Regions from separate parts of the Homo sapiens genome. Here region 1 is linked to region 2. The links are contacts of gene promoters, found by promoter capture Hi-C in blood cells and fetal thymus (Javierre and others, 2016). All regions are on one chromosome and are shown on one strand. Each heading gives the region's core, a stretch centred on a gene start or on the middle of the fragment in contact. The rest is flanking DNA. Distances are from core to core; before and after follow the strand shown. Region 1 holds the start of RTN4RL2 (reticulon 4 receptor like 2). Region 2 overlaps LOC105369313 (a long non-coding RNA gene).

Region 1 (6,804 bases), core at 3,200-5,699, 1.0 Mb after region 2:
TGTGATGTAATACTCAGTGACACAGCGGCTGCTGTTCCATTCGTTCACACCACCTCCGCGTTTCTCGGCCCTTCTCACCCCTCCCCCGTGCGGCGTTTCACGATTACTTTCTCCTCCCGAGTTTCTTAGACCCACGTGGGGTGGAGGAGCAATGTCTCTCACCCCTCATCTGAACCAGGCAGAGGTGGAGTGTGGAAGCACAGTGGGGACCCTGAGTGGGTTTCATGAGGGTTGAGGTTTGGGGCTTAGAACTGGAGATTTCAAAGCCGCAAAGGTCCCCTCGATTCCTCTGGTTCAAGCATCAGTTCTACTGAGGTGATGACTGGAGCTCAGAGAGAGCAAGCGACTTACCCAAGGTCACACAGCAAAGTGTTGGCAGGGAAAGGGCCAGAAAAGTCTCTTGATGCCCAGCCAGGGCACTTCCCTTCCTATCAGAGTCACCCTCTGATCTCCACTTCCCTAAGGACTTGACACCAAAAGAAGCCAAATCCTTCTCTGATCCCTTAATCCTACCCCTTATCCACAAGCTCACCAGAGTGTGAGCCCTGATGGCCGCTAGCCCCTGGAGGATTACAGAGCTTTCCCCCAGCCTCCGGACTGACCGCTGCCCCAGGAGAGACAGAGGGAAGGATGTGCAATCTCAGAGGCAAGGCCCATTCCCCTGGCATCAGGGTTCCTTCCGGCCTTGAGGGTAAACTCTGCAGGAGCTGGCAAGGGTGCCTACTCCTCTTTCTCTCCCTAGACTCTCCTGCTCCCCACCTGCCCACATTAGACTACTTCTCTTCTCTTTCCCCACTCTCCTTCCATCTTGTTCCCATGTCTCCCCCAACCAGGGCTCACCTCCCCCAGCCCATGATAGTGGTCCCTGCAGGCTCTCTGAAGAGCGACCCCGTGCTGGGGGCTCCTCCATAACAGCTGCTGCATAACAGTGACTCTGTTGCCATTTCTGGCCCTTGCCACTGCCGTGCAAAGCAGCTGTAACCCAAGGAGCTCATCCATAATTCACGCAGCGGCTCTCACTGGAGGCAAGGAGGAGGGGAGGGGAGGGGGCTCTGGGCTTCACTGCCCCAGGCCTGCTGGGGCTGGAGCGAGCACTCCAGGGCAGAGGTGGTGGGACTGGGGGGTTGGGGGACTAGAGAGCTGTGCCTTTCCCTCTCTCCCCCGCCCTCAGTCCCTGCCCTGCCCAGTGTGTGCCCTTTTCTTTCTTGCCACGTCCCTTCCCCACCCCCTGTTCTCACTCCTCCTCAGCACCACCACTCCTTCCCTCCAGGCCCAGGCCTCCTGTCTCTCCCGAGGACCACGGCTCCACTCCTGGCCTTCATTTTGTGAATTCCCGGTGGAGACTGGGGCAAGATGCACAGAGTATCAGAGCTGGAAAGGGGGATACCTCGGTGGCCACCTAGAGCCGACCCCTCACATCATAGGTAACACCATTGAGGGCTGGGGAGGGGAAGTGTGAGTTTCTGAGCACCCCAGGCCTCCTGACCAGGTCTCTACAGCTCGCCTTCATTGTCTTTCTCAGAAGCCTTCATTTCATCCCTCCACTACTTCATGGACAGAGGAAAGCCCTTTGTAGCAGCCTCCCCCACCCTCTCTGCTCACCCCCTCCTCTAAAGTCAGCAGGGGATGGCTAGAGCTGCAGGGGAGAGTACAGCAGGGTAGGAGGAAACCAAGAAGCACCTATTTTGTCCTAGGCACTGCATTTGTACAGGTTAACTTCTTTATACATTGAACACAACACACATAATCCCCTGGAGGTCAATATTGTGGCCCCCAATTTGCAGATGAAGGAAGGGAGCCCCAGAAACATGACACAGTGGCCTCAGGTCATGCAGCTAGTACAAGGTGGAACCCAGATTGGAAAAGAGGGACATCAAGCCCATGTCAGAGAGACACTCTGATCTTTCTTTAAGAGGTGGCCACATCCTCCGCAGAAACCACGCCTGAATGTGTGAGACACTGCCCTTGAGGTAAAGACAGGAGAGAAATTGCACCCAGGTGCCTAGGGCTGGGCCAGCCACAATGCTGAGTCTGTTTGGCTATTCAGGGTCAAGGCAAGGAAGGGACTCCAGCTCTCTCTGCAACTTTCACCTCCTAGGCTTCCAGTTGCGGTTGTTCTAGAGTAGTGATTACATGTGGGAGTCAAGAAGAGATGACCCCTGTCCAGAATATATGGCCAGAACTGACCAGGGGAGGGAGCCAAGAGAGGCCAGAACATGGTATTGATCCCGGAAGGCTGAAGTGTCCAGAGCCAAAAGTATCTGTTCACTGAGGGACCACTGTCCAGGACTCTGGCTATCAAACCTTGGAGTACCAAGGCTCAGAAACAAAGTTCTCAGCCCACAGGCCACTCTTTGGGCCGGAGGCCCCTGTAGAAGAAGGAACTTGAGGAGAAGAAAACTGGACCCAAAGTAGGGGGCAGGATCCAGGCTACCCACCCACAGGGCAGAGTCGCTGGTGCAGAGTGGTCCCAGGAAAGGATGCTCCCTGGAAAGGCAGCAGAGGCCTCTCGCTCTGGAAGGAGGGGCACAGGGTCCCAGACGAGAAGCAAGGGCTCCACACCCAACGGGCTGCTTCAGGGAAGGGCTGGGGCCTGCGGGCAGATGCTGAGGGGGCAGGGGCTGAGGAGGTGGGAGCTGAGGAGTGGGATGGAGGTGGTGGTGATGCCAGTGACGCAGGGGCCTGGGGAGGCACTGACGCGGGTGACGGAGGTTTAGAGCTGCTGCAAACAGCTTCTCACTCTGCCAGAATGTAACACCCCAAAATAAGCAGCCACCGTGGTGGCGGCAGCGGCTGCAGAATCCAACGTCCAGGCCGGATAAATAAATGGCAGCACAGGAGCCAGCCTGTTTGCCCACCCTCGGAGGCTGTCACTCCCCTTCCAAAGTCCTCACCCTCTGTCCCTCACAGCCACCCCCAGGGCCCTGAGCTCAAAGCACCCCCCATCTGGCCCACCAGCCACTCCCTGAGAGAAGAAATGTGGCAGGCAGGCGCTTTGGGAATGGAGGGCTTCCCACGTGGAAGTGGTTACCAGAAGCCTCTTTGTCTCATCCCTGGGCAGCACCCCCAATCCCCAGTCCCTCTCTCTCAGCCTTTCTCTTCCTCCTCCTCTTCCCTCCTCTCCAGCCCCTCTCCCATCCATGGTTCCCTGTCTCCAACCCTCTTCGCCGGTTCCTGATACCCCTTCTCTAGTCACCATCCCCATCCTTCTCTGGTTTCTGATCTTTCCATTCTCCTTTTCCATTCCAGTCCCCAGGGTCCCAGTCCTGATTCTCTTTCCCGCTACCTCCATCCCAGGATTCTGGGTCCCTGTCCATAGTCTTCTTCCCATCCCTCCCCTGATCTGGTCTTTCCTCTCCTTCCCTCTTCCTTGGTCTTCACCTGGGTCCCACTTCCCTCCACGCTTTTCCCATCTAACCTTTATTCCTTCTCCCCCTCCCCCGCTCCATCTCCCTCCTCCTTTGAGCTTCCCTCACCACTTTCTCCATCTTTGAGTTCTCCTTCCTATCCCTCTCCCCCTGACCCCTCCCCACCCCACCCCCAGTCTCTGGCCCACACCCTTATCTGTCACTCAATCAGTAGAACTATCCTCTTTCTAGCGCCCTCCATCTCTCCTACCAGAGAGGGCCACTTGGATTTCCCTCTGCGCCTCCTACCTCCCCAGACAGCCCCCTACCCACATCTCCTGTCTTCCCAGGTGGCCAGAAAGTGCTGAGGCACCGGGCAGGAGGAGTTGCTGAGTCGGCGCTTCCCCAGCCGGCCCGAGTCCTCAGCGTCCCCCGGAGCAGGTGGAGCGGGGACAGCGGAACCTGAGCCTCCCTCCCCGCTCCGGGCCGGGTCCACCTGCCCCCTGCGTCCCACCTCGGTCACGAGCTCCTCGCACGCGCCCGCGGGCTCCCAGCCAAGTGCCCTCCTGCTGAGAACAGCCCTGGCGGCGGGGGCGCGGCCCCAGCGCTGAGCTTTTCCCCTTCCCCAGGTTACCCCACCTCCCCAACTGCCCCACCCTCAATCCCTGAAAGAGGGGACGCCCTGCTTCTCTCCCCAGGATGCCCTCCGCTCTCCCGCCGCTGGCGTTCTTACCTTGCAGCAGGCGCCTGAGCCCGGGCAGCATCTTGTCTCGATGCTCGGGGGAGGGGGCAGCGGGGGGAGGGCGCTCCCACTCGCTCCCTGAGCCCGCCGGATGCACGGCGGGGACCCCGCGGGGCTCCGGGAGGGCCCGGGAGTCCCCGGGCTGCGTGGCCGGGCCGCGGCGCTCTACCCTGCGCCGCCCGGGCTGCGGGCCTCGGGAGGAGCCATCGGCCCCGACGGGACGGGGCGGGGCGCGACGGGGCGGGGAAGGCTGGGGCTGGCCGTCGACGCCCAGCGCCCGCGCCCCGCTAGCTGCGCTGTCCGCTCGAGAGTCCGTCAGTCCGTCTGTCCGTGTGCCCAGGCTGCTAGCCGAGGGAGAGTGGGGACAGCGAGGAAGCTCTTCCCAACCACCCCCACTCCTTCCCGCACTCGCTGGCTCCTCCCTCGTTTGCTGGCTTGCCGACTTAACCCTTTCTCGACCACTAGGAGGCGGGAGCGGCTTTCTAACCCCCTCCACCCCGCCCCCCTCCCCCCCGCTTAAGCGACCCGGAGGACTGTGTTCGATCGTCCTCGCGGCGCCACTCTTCTAGAGAAATCCCTTCTTGGGGGAATGCGGTAGTTTAGAGGAACGCCGTGGACTTGTCCTGTTCCCCCCTCCCAACTTTCCAGGAGAAGATGAGCTTCTGGGTCACCCCCTCCCCCGCCCCCAGCCGCGTCCCTCGCGCCAGTGTCCCAGCCTCCAGCATTTCTGTCCCCTGGGACAGCTCCAAGATTCCACTTTTCCTTCCACTCCCAGACCTCAAGCCCAGTGTGCGACTATAAGAATAGTATATGCAAGAGTTTGTGCGTGCAAGATCGAGTGCATATGAGCGTGCACGTGCGCGCAAGGATGCTTGTGCAGGTGTGACTCAGGATGCTTGCCCGTTACCCTTTGTACGGGCTTGGGGAAGCGGGGGGGGGGGCACGTGAGTGTGCACACGGGTGAGCCGCTGAAAGTCCGCCAGCGTGCATGTCTGAGCTGGTGGGAAACGTGAGGCTGTGCGAGGTTTTGCGCTTGCGATCTTGGGGATGGGTGGAAAGAAATATGTGCCCGGTGTGTGTATGCCCCTTAGTGCATTTACAAGCGGGTGCGAGATGGGCGCGCGTGCGAGTGTGTGCGTTTTTTTGTGTATGTATGATGTGTCCGGGAGGGGAGACCTTATCTCCCGCGGGGGTGCAGGAGAGGACCCAAAGCTGGGGAGAAGACTGTTGGCTTCGCGTGAACTTCCTCTACCCCCTTTTAAAGAGGGGCGGATTATGGTCTCACTGGAGCCCCTCTGGCCCTTCATGGCCTGGTCACAGGCGGTATCAGCAGACCCATCACCTAGGCACTTCCCTACAAAGGCTGCAGGGCGGTTGACCCAGGTCTTGACTCGGCCCGGCGCGTCCGCGGAGCCGCCCCGGCGTAGGATAGGCTCGGGGCCCTCGGGGGAGCCGCTTCGGGTACGGTGGCCAGGCAGCGCTGGCGGGGTTGGGGCTGCTGGAGCCTCAGGTGCGGCGGTGCCGGGGCTGCTGAGCCCCCTGGGCTGCCGCTCCCGCGAGCACAGAAGCCCCTCGCCCCGCTGCCCGCGCCGCGGCTCCTCCTTTCCTATCCGTGCCAGGGTCCAATGCAGTGCCTGGCATACAGTCGGCTCTTGATAAATGTTGGTCTTATTCTTCCCATTCATTCTCTGCTCCCTCCACGGTCTCTCGTTCTTCTCGCGTTCTCATTCGATTTCTCTGGTTTTCTCCCCCGACTCTTACTCATATTTCGTGGTCTCTGTCTCTCTGTTCCCTCCCTCCCTCACTCTCTCTCGGACCTTTTCTGTCTCTACTCGTCTGTTTCCCTGCCCGGTCTTCTGTCTTTCTCACTGTCTCTCTGTGTCTTCGTCTCTCTCCTCCTCCCCGCGGGGCTCCCTGCGTCTCTGTCTCTCGTCTCTGTGTGTCTCGGTGTCTCTGCCTCCCTTTCTCTCCCCCTCTTCCCCAGTTTCATTCCCAGGCTCCCGGCCCGTGGGCACCTCGGCTCTCGGGTGCCCCCTGCTGGTTCCATTTTCGGACCTTCTCGGCCCCCCAGCTCCTCTCTGTGCCCCTAAATTTCCTTTCCCGCCCCTCTCGTTTTCGGATCAGGTAGAAACAGAAAGAAAAGTCTCTGGGGCTCCCGTCTTCCCTCACCCAGGGCTCCCCCTATTTCCAGGAGGCAGGACAGGACCCTGCGTTTCCCCAGGACCCACCCCGACTAGGGCCTGCGCCTGGGGGGAGGGCCTGGAGGCGGCGGCGGGGAGGGAGTGTTGGGGGTAGCAGGGTGGGGTTTGGCGTCCTTCCCCGGAATGAGCCGCGGCACAATCTGTCGCTGGGTTTGTTTGCCGAGCTGCCTCCGGAGCGCAGTGGGGCTGGCTCCCGGGGAGCGAAATATCACAAGATGCGGAGACAGACGCTGAGGGGCGGGTGGGCGGCGGGCTGACTCAGGTGTGCTGTCATCGGTTCCCGGGGCCCGCGCTCTTCGGGGAGGGGTGGGAGGGGACCCCGGGCCCCCAAGGCAGGCGGAACCCCGAAGCTGGGGGGGAGCTCCTCCTCCTGGGACGAGCTGCGAGGAAAGGGAAGCCCCGTCCGGGAATCCCTGGCTCCAGGCAGTCGCAGCCCCTCTGCTCATCCCCGCCCCTTATACAGGTGTCACGGTTTCCCATAATTATCTGCTGACTCACCCCCTCCACCCCCAAC
Region 2 (6,901 bases), core at 786-3,285:
ATTAAAAAAGGTAAATCAAACAAAGCTCTTATATTTTAGAAAGTGATATAACTAAATTTCTGTTATAAACTTTTCTGTATATGTTACATTTCACACTTCAAATGTTTAGAAACAGACCCAACAGAGCTCCTATATTCAATAAGTTTATTTAAAAAAAACTAAAGGGGAGATAAGACCTATACATAAGTAACTTTAATTCTGTGTAGAAAATAATAAAAACCAACAAGAGATACATATAAAATGCTATAGTAATAGTTGAAGGGTAGATTCTAGGGTGGGGAATTGAGGAAGATAACTTTGCTCTGGACAAGAAAGAGAGATACAGTAAAATAGAAATTATTCAGATATATTTCACAAATAGTGTCTGTTTGGCTGAAGTGTAATATCTGTGGAGAGAAGTAATGGAAAATAAGTTTGGAATGATACACTGGTGCCCAACAGTAGGGATATTATCTTTCAAATTGAGGTTTTCAAATTTAAGCTATAGATTCAAACTTCAATAAAGAAGTTCTGGACATCATGCACATAGACGTCGGAGATAAGGCAGAATCTCAACTGCTGTAGAAGAATATTTAAAACAGCTTTCCTTATGCACCTATGTTAAAGTAAAGCACTTGTTTGCTTCAGAGGAAATTTTCAGCATTTTATGTATGAGCACATATCCACCTAAAACATTATTTGAGCACCTGCTCTAGCAAATATTGGTATTCTGTGTATCCAGAATCCATTTTCCTGCTTAAAATATCGTGACTTTCTTGGAGAATGATCTCTTTCTTGGAGAATAGATTGGTGGGAGAAGAGTGTCTAGTTCCTGTACCCTCTCCACCCACAAGTCTATGGAAGCTGAGGCAAGGATAACCTTTCCTTCCCTGCCCCCTAAGGAAGAGAAATCTATACAGAGAGATTCATGGAGGTATATAGAGAGGCAGGCATGAGTCCTAAGCTCAGCCAACAAAAAGTTCTCACTCCCCTAAATTTGAATCTGCAAGGGATGGAAAGAAGCATCAAGGCTTGGAGCTCATTTGCTATAGCAGGGAAATGTTGGTGGGGCCATTCCAGACATGACATGGTTCTTTGCTTCCGACTTCTGTTCCTTAGCCCTCTGAAGTGCTCCTGGTTCCTGCATTTTGCCCAGTTTCCTTTTGATTCTGCAAACCTCTTGATATCCTTTCAATTACCTCTTTTGTTTCCCTTCAAGTTAGCCTGAACTGGTGTCTATAATGAAACATAACTGATACCTCTAGCTTGTGAGAGATACTCTTCCATGGACAGTAGAGTGAACAAGAGAGAAGTCACTGACCTCACAAAATTATAAATGTTAAAGAGTATGGGGAATAAAGCACCCTCAATAATAAAAGAGAGGTCCACAACATTTCAATAAAAACCAAAAAGTGTTATAAAAAATTATCAGGAAATGAATAATGCAGAGGAAACACTGCCACAAAATTTAACTTAGCAGAAAATGAAGCAACTACCAAGGCATCCATTTTTAATTATTTTTGTTCTTGCTAACAATAGTAATAAACATCTGGAATTATTGGTACATAGGATGAAAGAGATCTTAGGGCTGTTTTTGTTCCCCTGTTGCATGTTACTGACTAGGAAGTTGAGGCCTGGGGAGGAGAAGTGGTCTCTGAATTCTCACATCCAGGAAGTGACAGAGTGAGACTTTGTGCAGTATTCTAACTCTGCATACCACCTCACACACCACAGCTGCTCTGGCTGGCGGCCACAACCCCTTTTGTGTGTATGAGCACACATTTAGTTTGCTTAATGTTTTTGATAGAGTCAGAAACATTTTTCTTACAAACACGTTTGTCCTTATAAACACATTACTGATTTTCTGTTCAGATAATGGTCACTTTTTATCTGAATAATGTATGAGCCTGGCTAAAGCTGGACAACGTTGTGTCCAGGAGCCAGTATGCTGACTTTCAAGTTAATTGCAACAACCACTTCTTTTTAGGTCCCTCGTTGGCTGCTCGTCAGATTTCTCTCTTCAATTCCAAGCGCATCTTATGTAAACAATAGTGTCTATGATAGTGGATGTGATTGTGTGCTACCTGGATCTCCTAGCTGAAATCCTTCGAAGAATTTCCTTCAGTCAATGGGAGCCACCTCCCCTGAGGTTATGGCTCCAGGTGAAGATTAAACAGCTGTAGAAGTGTCATCCAAGATTGGCCAGTGAGTAGTATGAAGGCCTGCCCCTGCTTGTCCTGTTTCCTTGACACAGCTCCCAAGAGCCATCTCAGCTCCCAAGCACCCTAAAGGATTGGCTGAGGCCTTTATTGAGACTGCATTGCAGCACAATTTCTCCCTCTCTCTAATTCTGCTGCCATCTCTCCCTTACAGATGCTGTTCCTGAGAGTCCTTCCTGGAGAGCCATCTGCACACAGATCTCAGTCTCAGAGTCTATTTCCCAATGAATCTAATCTGAGAGATCTCTTCATTTGCTGTTTTTTCCCTGTATGAAATAGTTACTTTGTTTTACTTTATTTTATTAAGTTCAGTGGTACATGTGCAGGTGTGTTATATAGGTAAATTGTGTGTCATGGGGGTTTGGTGTACAAATTATTTCGTCACCCAGGTAATAAGCATAGTACCTGATAAGTAGTTTTTCAGCCCTCTTCCTCCTTCTCACCCTTCACCCTCAAGTAGGCCCTGGTGTCTTTTGTTCCATTCTTTGTGTTCAAATGTTTAGCTCTCACAAGTGAGAACATGTGATATTTGGTTTTCTGTTCCTGTGTTAGTTCACTCAGGATAATGGCCCCCAGCTCCATCCATGTTGCTGCAAAGAACATGATCTTGTTTCTTTTTATGATTGCATATTATCCCATAGGTTATATGTGTCACATTTTCTTTATCCAGTCTACTGTTGATAGGCATTTAGGTTGATTCCATGTCTTTGCTCTTGTGAATAGTGCTGCAATGAACATATGCGTATATGTGTCTTTATGACAGATCTATTTATATTCCTCCTGGCATATCCCCAGTAATAGGATTGCTGGGTCAAATAAGAATTCTGTTTTAAGTTATTTGAGAAATTGCCACACTGTTTTCCACAATTGCTGAACTAATTTATGTTCCCCCCAACAGTGTATAAGCATTCTCTTTTCTCTGCAACCTCACAAGCATCTGTTATTTTTTGACTTTTTAGTAATAGCCATTCTGACTGGTGTGAGATGGTATCTCATTGTGGTTTTGATTTTCATTTCTCTAATGATCAGTGATTTTAAGCATCTTTCATATGCTTGTTCACTGTATGTTTTCTTTTGAAAACTGTTTGTGTCTTTTGCCCACTTTTTAATGGAGGCTGTTTGTTTTTTGCTTGTTAATTTGAGTCCCTTATAGATTCTGGATATTAGACCTTTGTTGGATGCATAGTTTGCAAATATTTTCTCCCATTCTGTAAGTTGCCCTTTTTACTCTATTTGTTTCTTTTGCTGTCCTCATCCACTCTTAATTCTATGATAATTTCTGATGGCCAAATAATGTTTTACCTTCTTTAAGATTGCTATTTGTGTTGCTAAGAACATCAGAGATAAGATCCTAAATCTTTAGACTTGTTTCTTGAAGTAAGCAGAAAACAGTGGCTAGTGTGCACAAAATTCACATTTCCTAGAGATGTAAAGAGCCTTAGAAGCTGTCCCCTCCTCAAATACTTCCTGATGGTTTTGTGTGTGCTGTGAGCTCTGGTGGGCATTTTCACCTTTGTTGTTTCTCATAATTACCCTGTTAACATTTAGGTTATTATCCTAGTTTTATAGTTGATAAAACCAAGGCCCAAATATGTGAAGTGACTTATCAAGGATTAAACAGATGAAGAAGTGTCATCATTTTCTACTAAATGATAACCTGTGATTTATGAATCAGATTTCCCATTTTATAGATGGTAAAACTAAGGCTCAGATACAGATGCTAAGTGATAGAACCAGGATACCGATTCACTCTTTTGCTGGCCTACAAACCCTTTATACTCTATTCTTACCTCCCCATCATGTTCTACCTTTTTTCAGATGAGAAAACTAAGGCAAAAAAAAAAAAAGAAATCTCAAATGTTTTTTCCCATGTCATATAGATAGACTGGTGGTGTTGAGTCTAGGCTCCAGATTTTCTATCTCCCACTCCACACCACCACCTAGCTGTCCTGCTCAGCATGCTCAGAATCTGTAGGACTCCAGCTGCCTTTTCCAAACCTGGTCGGTGCAATGGCATTCTCACTTTGACTGCAAAACTCCTCACCAAATATAAAACTGAAAATGTAGGCCACCTGTCCATGTGATTGTATTTCATAACTTAGAGCTAAAAATAGCTCTCAGCTTGCTTGGCCTGTATATAACATATTAAAAGCTCAAATTCAAATTCACTCGCATCTTGGATTAATGTTAAGATTATGGCTTTCCAGACTTCTTTCTCTCACATTCTATCTCACCCAGCAGGGAATGGATTGTGCTTGTCCACATTATTTTCTATGTGAATTACTGAGCTCTTATTTTCAAAGATGAATTTCGTGACCTTATGCTCTTTGCTGTACCTGCAGAATTCATTTTGGAGGGCACAGACTCTAGAACCAGACAGCAGGGTAAGGCTGGGTATCTGTGGCCAAGGCATGAAAATTTTGCCTTGATTTCTTCATCTGTGAAATGGAGACGAAATCATACATATTTCCTGAGGCTGTTTTGAGAAGTAAACACACTAATTCATGGCTAGTGTTTAGCTAAAATCTGGACACACACACAGAGTGGACAAATATGATAATTAAAAGCAAAAATCAACAAAATAAAAAATCACCACCGCATAGCATGACCAATTTGTCCTAGTTTGCCTGGAACAATCTGTTTTCTCACTGAAAGCCCCAAATCTCAGAAAATTTCTTAATTCTGGGCAAATTGGAACGGTTGTTTACTCTATTCACCACCAATGAAACAAACAAAAGGTTCTGAGTAATTCATTTATTCAAGAAGTGTTTATTTATAACTAATAAATTCTAGACAGTGTGATGGTATTTTAAAGGTAAACATGACAAAAATGTATCCTCATGGAACACTCAAGCTAATGAGAGAGAATTATGAAAATGGGAAAATTGTATATGTGCTGTCCTGAAAACTGGCATGAAATGGACAAAGAGTGTAATTCTGAGATGCATTGTATTCAGTGGGACACAATCCAGGAATTTCATGGATTACACACTTCTGTCTAATGCTACTTTTTTTTTTCCCCAAGCAAAATGCTATGGGGAGTTAACAGGGTTACATATGAAAAAGCTTTCCATAAGCAGGTAAGTTAAACAGCTTGCTGTTACATTACTACAGTACTTCTCAGCATCTTTAATAGCCTACTGAACACTTAAATCTCAGATGGGGATGTTTTAAGTATTATTTCTGAACTTTTAGACTTTTCAACAACATAGAATTTTTTTAAAACTCATGTGATGGTACCAATATTCCGTAGGGCTTTGACAGAAGGAAAATCTAAGTGGTATTAGGCATTGAACACAGAAAGCTCAAAGTAGGAAGAAAAGTGCCAAACCCCAACTCCTCATAAATAGAGACAGAAGTCATGCTTCAGTCATCAGAGCCAGAGCTGTGGTTCTTAACCGTTTTTCTTTTGGTTCATGAGCCTTGTTTCAGAATTTAATGAGCACATGGATGCATAGAGGATAAGAAGCTTCAATCAAGAGCCTTGAAATTCACAGAGCATGCTGAAGAGATGCTAAGTCTTCTTAGGAATTGAAAAATCTTCTCTAAGTGAATTTTGATCCTTCCTATCAGCAGAGATGGAAAGAACCTGCAGACTGAAATAAATACTAACACAAGAAAGAAATTCCACGTGTGGACTAGCATGGGATAATAGTGTAGAATGCATAGAAGCAGGACTTAGATGAAATATAGTAGTCACTTTCATATATGGAGTGCTTACTATTACATGCTTTATCTTATTTAATCAAGAGATATTTATCCTGGTATTTAGGCTGTGGCTTCTGAAATCAGACTTCTTGGTTTTGAATATTGTTTTTGCCATTTACTGGTGATGCAACCTGGAAGAAATTACTAAAATACCTCTAAGTCTTGTAATTCCCATCTCTAAAGTAGCAATCATAAGACAGTAGTATCTTTTTCATCAGGCTTGTAGAGGTTTCATGACATAATTGCTGCAGGCTGATTTCTAACTCATAGTAAAGCTCAGTAAATATTACCTAATGTTTTTCATATTATTATTAGGTGGATATTATTCTTAGCATTTTCATTTCATGGAAGAGGTAACTGAGAACAGGAGTGATCTATAGCAGACTCTTCCTATCAACCCCATTTAGGGGTTCATTATTGGGGAGAAACAGGAAAGCAGTGTCATATATTTCAGCCTCATTTTTCTCTCAGAAGAAATTATATTAATAAAATAATGTTCTTGGTCTCTTTCTAAATTATTTTTCTCTGAGTCATCCTTTATGCAAGTGATATTTATAACTTTGTGAATCACACCCACACTTGTGTGGGTTCTCTCCTTGGGTCATATGTATTTTTAGTGTGTCTTTATATTTTGGGGACACGGGGAGATGTTCTTTATAACAGATATGTAACTTAAGATACTCTCTTCTGATTTAGGAGGGACCTTCATATCCCAGGACCTGCTGAAGTCATTCCGAACAGGTTTAAGTTGCCTCTGGTCTGTCCTCTGTCCCACCTACACAGCACAAGTAAAAAGGAGAGAGAGAAACCACTGAAACAAAAACATTCTGTATTTTAAAGTCAGAAGCAAAAGTCTTTATTTCCTTTTTTTTTCTTTCTTTTTTTTTTTTTTGAGACGGAGTCTTGCCTTGTCGCCCAGGCTGGAGTGCAGTGGCGCGATCTCAGCTCACTGCAAGCTCTGCCTCCCGGGTTCACGCCATTCTCCTGCCTCAGCC

The links. Contacts are between HindIII fragments. The CHiCAGO score rates a contact against its expected background, and 5 or more counts as called.
Region 1: the fragment with the promoter of RTN4RL2 here is called in contact with a fragment that was not itself captured in region 2 in 1 of 17 cell types (total B cells); the score reaches 5.3 in total B cells.

What each region holds. Positions count from the first base shown.
Region 1 is chr11:57,458,173-57,464,976 of GRCh38, reverse strand. RTN4RL2 (reticulon 4 receptor like 2) reads right to left here and starts at 4,449. Exons shown (of 3, transcript NM_178570.3): 1 at 4,081-4,449. The coding sequence starts at 4,111. RefSeq lists enhancers at 1-555, 605-1,109, 2,199-2,737 and silencers at 4,173-4,442, 5,542-5,601. The HindIII fragment of the contact is 14,932 bases long and covers 1-6,804 here.
Region 2 is chr11:58,493,456-58,500,356 of GRCh38, reverse strand. It overlaps LOC105369313 (a long non-coding RNA gene), which reads left to right. Exons shown (of 5, transcript XR_007062673.1): 4 at 1,967-2,184; 5 at 2,353-6,421. Among named protein-coding and RNA genes, the nearest start is that of OR5B21, 11 kb to the left of the region's middle. The HindIII fragment of the contact is 6,463 bases long and covers 1-5,266 here.